Linked DNA regions of Homo sapiens: region 2 is linked to region 1. The links are contacts of gene promoters, found by promoter capture Hi-C in blood cells and fetal thymus (Javierre and others, 2016). All regions are on one chromosome and are shown on one strand. Each heading gives the region's core, a stretch centred on a gene start or on the middle of the fragment in contact. The rest is flanking DNA. Distances are from core to core; before and after follow the strand shown. Region 1 holds the start of TBL1X (transducin beta like 1 X-linked). Region 2 has its middle 25 kb from the start of LINC03114.

Region 1 (4,001 bases), core at 467-2,966:
AGGAGCAACGAAGGGCAGGCTCAAGGGAAGGCCCCACCATGTCCTTCTGGGGGGCCTTGAATGGCAACTGATACATAATAAGACACAATCTATTCTGCTGATTCACAATTATGGAGACTGTGTAAGTGTGTATTTTTTTATTGATGTCCTCTAATGATGGTGTAGCAACAGTCGTTTTGCATCATTGACGTTTTACAGCAATATTTTGCAGGGTAATTTTGAGGTCCGCCGTTTTGGTGGAGGACCGGCCTCTTAAAAACTCACCTCCGGCCGGGCACGGTGGCTCACGCCTGTAATCCCAGCACTTTGGGAGGCCGAGGCCGGCGGATTGCCTGAGGTCAGGAGTTCAGACCAGTCTGGCCAATATGGTGAAACCCCGTCTCTACTAAAAATACAAAAAAAATTAGCTGGGCGTGGTGGCATGCGCCTGTAATCCCAGCTACTCGGGAGGCTGAGGCAGGGGAATTGCTTGAACCAGGGTGGTGGAGGTTGCAATGAGCCGACAGCGCGCCACTGCACTCCAGCTTGGGCGACAGAGCGAGACTCCTCAGAAAAACAAAAACAAAAACAAAAAAACAAAAACCTCACCTTAGGTCCCCCTCCCCCTACAACCAGAACAACAAATGGTCTAGAGTTCGAGGAAGAGCAAGTGAGGTTATAGTTTAGATTGCTGAGTGTACCGGGCTCTTAGCACGAAGCTCATTATATAGTAAAGGAAGGGGCAAGAATATTTGAAAAATATTCAACGAGGCTGACCCCAGAGGTGCTGGGGAGGGGGAGTGGAGATCTGTTTAACTGAATTAAGGCTGCGAGTGGTTGGGAGTAGCCTACGTGGAGGGGAGGAAGGAGCGCTGGGGACTTAGGTACACCGGGGCCAGGCCGTGTAAGCCATTGCAACATAAAGCACTTTGCAAGGGCCAGAGGGCTGATGCCTGGGGGGTTGGGGTGGGAGTGATGAGGCCCGAGTGCCCAGGTCCCCCCAACCTCCTCAGCCCCCACACCCGAGTTCCTGGCGCCTATGCCTGTGTGTCTGAGTTTGTCCCTAAGCATTTCTGGCTCTTCTTGGGAGGTGTTTTGCAAAGGTCGAGGCTCCGCCGGAACCCCCACTTTTTGAGCTGGGGTAAAGACTACTGGGGTGTCTTCTAAGACGCCGATTTTGAGGGAGATTCACCATCGGGCAGGTGGCAGGGGGTTCTGTTGGGGCAGCCGGGTGGCTTCCTTTTTGGGGTGGGGGAGGGTAACACTTTAGCAGTGATCGAGGTTCCCCTGCCCCCTAGAAACTGAGGGGGTGGCCGAGGTTCCCGTCCCCTCGAGGCAGTCGTGGAAAGGCTGGGTTTGGGATGTGATGGGGGTAGCCCTGGGGTCCTCTCAGTCCCACGGAGGCCACGGGGAAGGGACCGGGACCAGAGCAACTAGGGAGAGGCCCGGGTTCCCCTCACCCACCCTAGGCGTGGGGGAGCGGGGCGGGCTTGGTAGGGACGCTGGTCCCCCGACCGTGGGACAGGGGCTGGGTTGGGACGCGGGTCCCCACTAGGAGCCGCGGGGGAGGGGCAGGGCCGGAGTCCCTACCCTCGTAGGGGAGGGGCTGGTTCGGGACGCGGCTCCCCCGGGGCGCAGGGGCGGGGCCGGGTGGTACGCCGGGTCCCCTCCCACGGCCGTGAGGGAGGGGCCGGCGGCGGGGGCGGACCCCTGGCGGTCCTCCTGGCTGGGGTCCGCGCGCTCGCGGCAGCTCCCCGTGGAGGTCACTGTCCGTGCCAGTCCCTCCCGCTGTCCCGCCCTCTCCCGCTGCCGCCGCCGCCGCCGCCGCGCCCGCCTCAGCGCCCCCACTCCGCGCTTGGGAGCGAGGAGCCGCCAGCGCCCCCGCCCCGCCGCCGCCGCAGCGCCCTCAGGCCGCCATTCGCCACCGAAACTTTCCAGCGCCCGCGCTCTCTCCGGGACTCGGCGGCGGCGGGGCGGGGGCGGCCCGGGGGCGGCGCGCGGCTGCTCCGGGGCGCCGGGCCCTCTTCGGCCGCCGCACGGCCGGGACTCGGAGGCTGCCGGCTGGAGGGAGGTTCGGAGCGCGGCCGGGCGCGCGGCGCCGCCACAAGTTGCGCTGCTCGCGACGAGGTGAGTGCGCAGGGCTCGGCGGGCCGGGCGCGGGGTCCGCAAACTTCTGCGGGGAGGCGGGTCCCGCGCTGACCCTCCAGGGTCCGGCCGGCGGCTCGGGGCGCCCGAACGCTCCACCCGCCCCTGGAACTCCTGTAGGTGCAGGTCGCCAACTGTCCCCGCGGCGCTCGGACTGGGGTGCGGCGCGCTCCCAGGAGCCTGAACAATACCCCGAGGTGGCCGCTCCCCGAAGTGCCGGCGCGCCTTGCGGGGAGAGACGGAGGTCGGCGGGGGGCTCCTTTGTTTTGGGGAGGGGGAAGTGGCCGGTAAGTTTAGGGAAGCGCTCGGCTTTTCCTCCGGTGCCCCTTTGTCTGCCGATTCAGGGGCTTGCTGGGCAAACCTGCGCCACCGCGGGCTCCGGGGACCGGGGTGGAGGGCGGTGGCGGGATTTCCCCGCTGTTGGGGAGAAGAGCCCCATTCATACCCGGGACGCGGGCCGGCCCTCCCGGACCCGGGTGGAAGCGCAGCCTCGCGGAGTGGGGCAAGCGGCGGGCGAGGTGGCGCGGGCCCCGTGTCTGCTCAGTTTCTGACGCGCAGAAACTGTCAAGGAAGTCGGGAGCCCCAGTCCTCCGCCCATCTCCCCGGCCTGAGCGCACGGCTGGGCTGGGGGCACCCTTGGCCCGTCGAGGGTCTGCAGAGCGCCGCCCGGGGAGAGCGCAGACCTGTTGCTGCTCCTGGGCTCTGACGGGGCGGGTGGGGTGGGTCTCGCAGATCCTGGGCCCCGGCCTTGCTATCCAGGGGGACCTTCCCTAACGATGGGACCGGTGCTCGGAGTGGAGTATGGGGAGTGCGCCTTCGGGAGTCGGCGCTGGCCGGATATGTGACAACTGTGGGTCGCTGGAGGCCCGCCTGCGCTGGGATAGGGCCTGGACTTCACGTGCGTCGCCTGTGTTCCGTCAGACCGGGGCCGGGGCTCGCTCCCTGCAAGGCCTCGTGTTCCCCCAGCCAGCTGCGTTGGACGTTCCACAAAGGTAGGGACTGACGTTTATTCTCGAGTCAGTGATGTTCTGGAGCAAAACCTAAAAAGAAACAAAAACCTACCCTCTATTGTATTTGCAACTGTTTCTGCTTTGCATTGTCATGTGTGGTTTGACCTGCCTTTTGGATGTTTTCCTCTCCTGAAACATCGCCCAGTCCCTGGTTTAACCTGGAAGGCGAGGGGGAAGGAAGGCAACCTCCCTGCTAAGGTTCCAGGCAGTGGCTTTGGTGTTGGAAGTGGCACTTGACGATTTTATGAAAAGTTTACAAGTCCTTCCTAGAAAAGATGTAATTAGGAAAAATAAAATACAGAAGAACGTTGAGTATGACGCGTTTATTTTAAAGGGTAGTCCTGTCTCAAATGTGCTGCACATTTTTGTGGAAAGCCACCAAGCTGGGTAACTAATGCAAACAACAAAAGTTGTTCATCACTGGATCACCGGCCCTTAAGGCGATTCCAGCCCTTAGTAGAACACACACCTGTAGGGCAAATATGGAGATTTGTGGTGTAGTGCTGCCACCCTCGCTCCCCAACTCTCAGGCATTTTGCCCCTTTACCTCAGAGAACTTCTCTCTGTCAGTGGTTTTAAAGAGGAAACAGTTTGCAAAAATAACTTTATTGTAGACATACTTAGAAGTGAATGTTTCAATTTCTGGAGTTTTCCCATCAATTATATCAGTACCACTGGTTCTGTACAACATCATCTTAGTTAGAAGATTTTTTTTCACCTTTTAAGGTGACGAACAGAGGCGGGAAAATGGTCCCTGCAGAGGGAGGCCATCTCCAGCAGGTCCCGAGGGTCAGGAATTCAGATTATCCGATCTACTCCTGCTGGATAGGAGCACACCTCCGCTAGAACCTGGGTCCGGCCCCCTCC
Region 2 (4,001 bases), core at 1,007-3,506, 510 kb before region 1:
AGTGTACAGTTCGGTGTCATTAAGTACATTCACACTGTTGCACAGCCATCACCACCACTCATCCCCACAACTTGTTCATTATCCTAAGCTAAAACTGCACACACTGTATAATCACTCCCGGTCCCCTCCCCTCAGCCCCTGGCAATCAGGATTCCACTTTCTGCTTTTATGGACTCAACTACTCTAAGAACTTCATAAAAGTGGAATCATAACGTATTGTCCTTTTATGTCTGGCATATTTCACTTAGCACAATGTCCTCAGGGTTCATCCATGTACCATATATCAGAACATTCCCGTTTAAGGCTGAATAAGAGGTCATTGCATGTACATGTACATTTGTTTATCCATTCATCTGTTGACCCACATTTGAGTTATTTCCACCTTTTGGCTATTGTGAATAATGCTGCTATGAACATTGACATACAAGTACCTGAGTCCCAGTTTTCAATTCTTTGAGGTATATACCTGCAAGTAGGATCACGGGATTGTATGGCAATTTTATGTTTAGCTTTTTTAGCATCTCCACGTAAGCTTCATCCCTTTTTTCAATAATACAAAAGGTTGAAATCCTTGACCTATATTTCCATTATTATGTAATTTTAACAGATACCAAACCTGTAAGAATTTCCAGTGGAACATTTTAAAGAGCTTTTAAAAATATATACAGCCCCTGGGGTAGAACGGAATTAGAGTCAAATTCTCAGTTCCTGACTGACCAATACTCATTCCTTATGCCATTGTTGATAATTCAGTAAAACAATAGATGTGTCTTTATTCTTGTGAAATTGAAGTTTCTGAGACATCTTGTTCAACCTTCCTTCTTCTGGCGAAGTAGTCAGTTTTATACTACTATTTTGGGGGATATAATTGTGTGAAAAACTTCTTCTCTTGAGCATGAAAGCCCTGCCACACCCACACAGGAAGATGAGATGGGAGACAGACAAAACCTGTAGCATTTCTCCATTCTTTTAGCCCACACCTGCACTAAAATAACCTCCGTCAGATCCTCACCCGGAGCAGCTCTCTTTCTTTTTCCCCATGAAGCCTAACAAAGCATCCTGGATAACTGTGTACTTCCTGCCTCACAAATAAGAAGGGAATTATTTATCATCTGGCTAGACAGGTGCAGAATCTTAGAAGCCCTGATTCCTATTGAAATCCGGGGCCAGAGCACGACGTCAACCATGCCTCCCTGTCTGGGACCCACACCAATGGTGAGGTGAGCGGTGCTGGGAGTACACAGCCTGTCTAGTTCTTTCTCAAGATTGACATGTCAACTCCATGAAACTCGGCATTGCTCTCATAAACATCATCTCCTAAGCTCATCTTGGCATCAGATCTGTACGATGGCAGGAGTGCTGGGGAGGCTGGCACACCCATGCGAATTTGTTTGGAGCCGGGAGAGACCTGTCGGGGGCACTGGGTTATGCCTTAGATAGTAGGGCTTTGCTAACACCTGGGATATTGAGTCTGGAACTCCCATGGGACACAGCTGCCCTGGTCCCAACTTGGAATCAGATGCTTCCAAAGAGAATAAAGAAATGTCAGCTCCTTTCATTAAAATAGTCAAATCCACTGCATACAAACTGAATGCGGTTATAATGCTGGACAAAAACTTTTTCTTCCTTTTTTCCCCCTAATTTCAGGGGGAAAAATGCTTAGAGTTTTAGAAAGATTTTTTTTCAGAAATCTTTTGCCTTCAGAGGTGGAGGATTACTTTGTAACAGTCACACAGGAAAACTGTCCTTAGACACACAACACAATGGTTCTCAGATTTTAGATGGCCACCAATCCCGTTCTGTGTGCTGGTTTAAAATGCAGATTCTTAGGCTCCACCTCCAGAAGATTCTGATCCTTTAGGTTGGAGCACAGCCTAAGAATCTGTGTTTGTAGCCCACTCCAGGGCATTCTGATGGAGGTGGTATAATTGGTCTACTATTGCTGCTATAACAAATTACCACAAACCCAATGGCCTCCAACATCATGAATTTATTATCTCACAGTTTGGCAGGCCAGAAGTCTGATAAGAGCCTTGCTGCACTAAGATCAAGGTGTCAATAGGGCTGTTTTCCTTCTAGAGTGGAGAATCTGCTTTCAAGCCACCTGCATTCCTTGTCTGACGGCCCCTTCATCTGTCTTCAAAGCAGGCAGCCTTATCTCTCGGACCCTGCTTTCTTCCTCATATCTGTTTCTTTCTCTCTAACCTCAGTTGGGCAGGTTCTCTGATGTTAAGAATACTTTAAGATAACATCAGGCCCTCTAGATGATTCAAAATACTCTCATCCCAGGGTCTCTAATCTTACTTACATCTGCAAAAATCCCTTTTGTGGTCTAAAGCAACATATTCACAGGTTCTGGGCCGTAAGCGTCTTTCCAGGGCAAAGGATTGGGCATTATTCTGTCTACCACGGGGAATCTGCAGGCCAGATTTAGAAAAACCTGCAAGCGACAGCGTGTATTCCATTTTTCTGGTCGCCCACAGTACCCATAAACCAGTGGTTCTCCACTGGGGAAGAGGGGTAATTTTTTAGCCCCAGGAATATTTTGCAATGGCTAGAGGTATTTTAGGGTTGTTACAGCTGGGAAATGGGGGTTCTCCTGGCATAGAGTGAGTAGAGGCCAGGGCTGCTGCTGAACAGCCCACACAGCAGGGTGGCCCCCACCGTAAAAAAGAATTATCTGACCCAAATATCAATAGTACCCAATTTGGAAAACTCTGCCATTAGCAGAGATGAGGAATTAAGGACATATTAATAAGCAAATTTATTCCTTTATATTCATCAATAGCTTTGCTCTGTCTAACCTGCCATTACATTGACAGAGTTCTCTTTAAGTCAATCAGATCTATATTTACCATCTTAAAACTACAGGTTTACTTGGAGCTTTCTCATCTACACTACTCCCTTCAAATTCCATTCCTTTCGTAAGTTTTGAAACATTTTAAATACCATGTCAGATCAGTGCATTCGTTTGCTAGGGTTGCCTTTGGGGGACTTAACAGAAATTGTTCTCTTGCCATCCTGGATGCTGGAAGTCCGAGATCCAGGTGTGGGCAGGGCTGGTTCCTCCTGAGACCTCTCTCCTTGGCTTGGAGATGCCCTCTTTCGCTGTGTTCTCAAATGGTCATCCTTCTGTGTTTGTCTTTGTCCTAATCTCCTCTTCTTATAAGGACACCAGTCCTGTTGGATCAGGGCTCGCCCAAATGACTTTATTTTACCTTAATCATTTCTTTAAAAGCTCTATCTCCAAATACAGTCACATACTGAGGTCCTGGGGGTTAGGACTCCAACATCTGAATTTAGAGGAGCACAATTCAGCCCATAACAATACATGAAAATACCTTCTCTTTAAAACACAGAATTGGGAATGATTAAGATAATGATTATAAAAGACATTCAAAAATCTTAAGATACTAAATCAATATATAGAACTAAGCTGAGCATTTTTTTTTCTTAATAGTTTTGAAGAAAACAGTATACCTCTTACCTGTGAAGCTATGATACACATTCACAAACAAGCCAGGCTTCTTGATCACAAGGCACAAAAATTGAATCAATTTGCTAATTTTAAAGCCAGGCTAATAATTTCTACTCTTAACTTTTGATTTATTTGTTTCTTTGTTTGTTTTTGCTATAAAAGCACATAAGGAGACTCAATTTTAGATACAGTGACCCATTTGTCACCGTATCCAAAATTATCTGAAATCAAATTAAGAACATCACCCAGAGTTCAAAAGCACTCAGTGGAGATGAGTTTGCAATGTCGCAGAGAAGGTAGTCTTGCACTCCATTTTACAATTTCCTTTAACTCCCCAGCATTATCTTTGGCATCTCGATGAAATTTCACTGGGTGTTGTAGGGCAATCCCAGATAGAAAAGCGCCCAATATGGACTTTTCTGTTTTATTTTATTGATTGATTTTTTTTTTTTTAGAGACAGGGTTTCTCTCTGTCTCCCAGGCTAGAGTGCAGTGGCATGATCAAAGCTTACTGCAGCCTCGA

Evidence for each region. Contacts are between HindIII fragments. The CHiCAGO score rates a contact against its expected background, and 5 or more counts as called.
Region 2: a contact is called between a fragment that was not itself captured here and the fragment with the promoter of TBL1X in region 1, in 12 of 17 cell types (non-activated CD4 T cells, M0 macrophages, activated CD4 T cells and 9 more). The highest score is 11.6, in non-activated CD4 T cells.

The regions. Positions count from the first base shown.
Region 1 is chrX:9,463,342-9,467,342 of GRCh38, forward strand. TBL1X (transducin beta like 1 X-linked) reads left to right here and starts at 1,717. Exons shown (of 18, transcript NM_005647.4): 1 at 1,717-2,106. RefSeq lists enhancers at 317-1,145, 973-1,172 and silencers at 1,403-1,982, 2,103-2,242, 2,543-2,692. The HindIII fragment of the contact is 11,363 bases long and covers 1-4,001 here.
Region 2 is chrX:8,950,209-8,954,209 of GRCh38, forward strand. No RefSeq gene overlaps it. Among named protein-coding and RNA genes, the nearest start is that of LINC03114, 25 kb to the left of the region's middle. The HindIII fragment of the contact is 3,453 bases long and covers 531-3,983 here.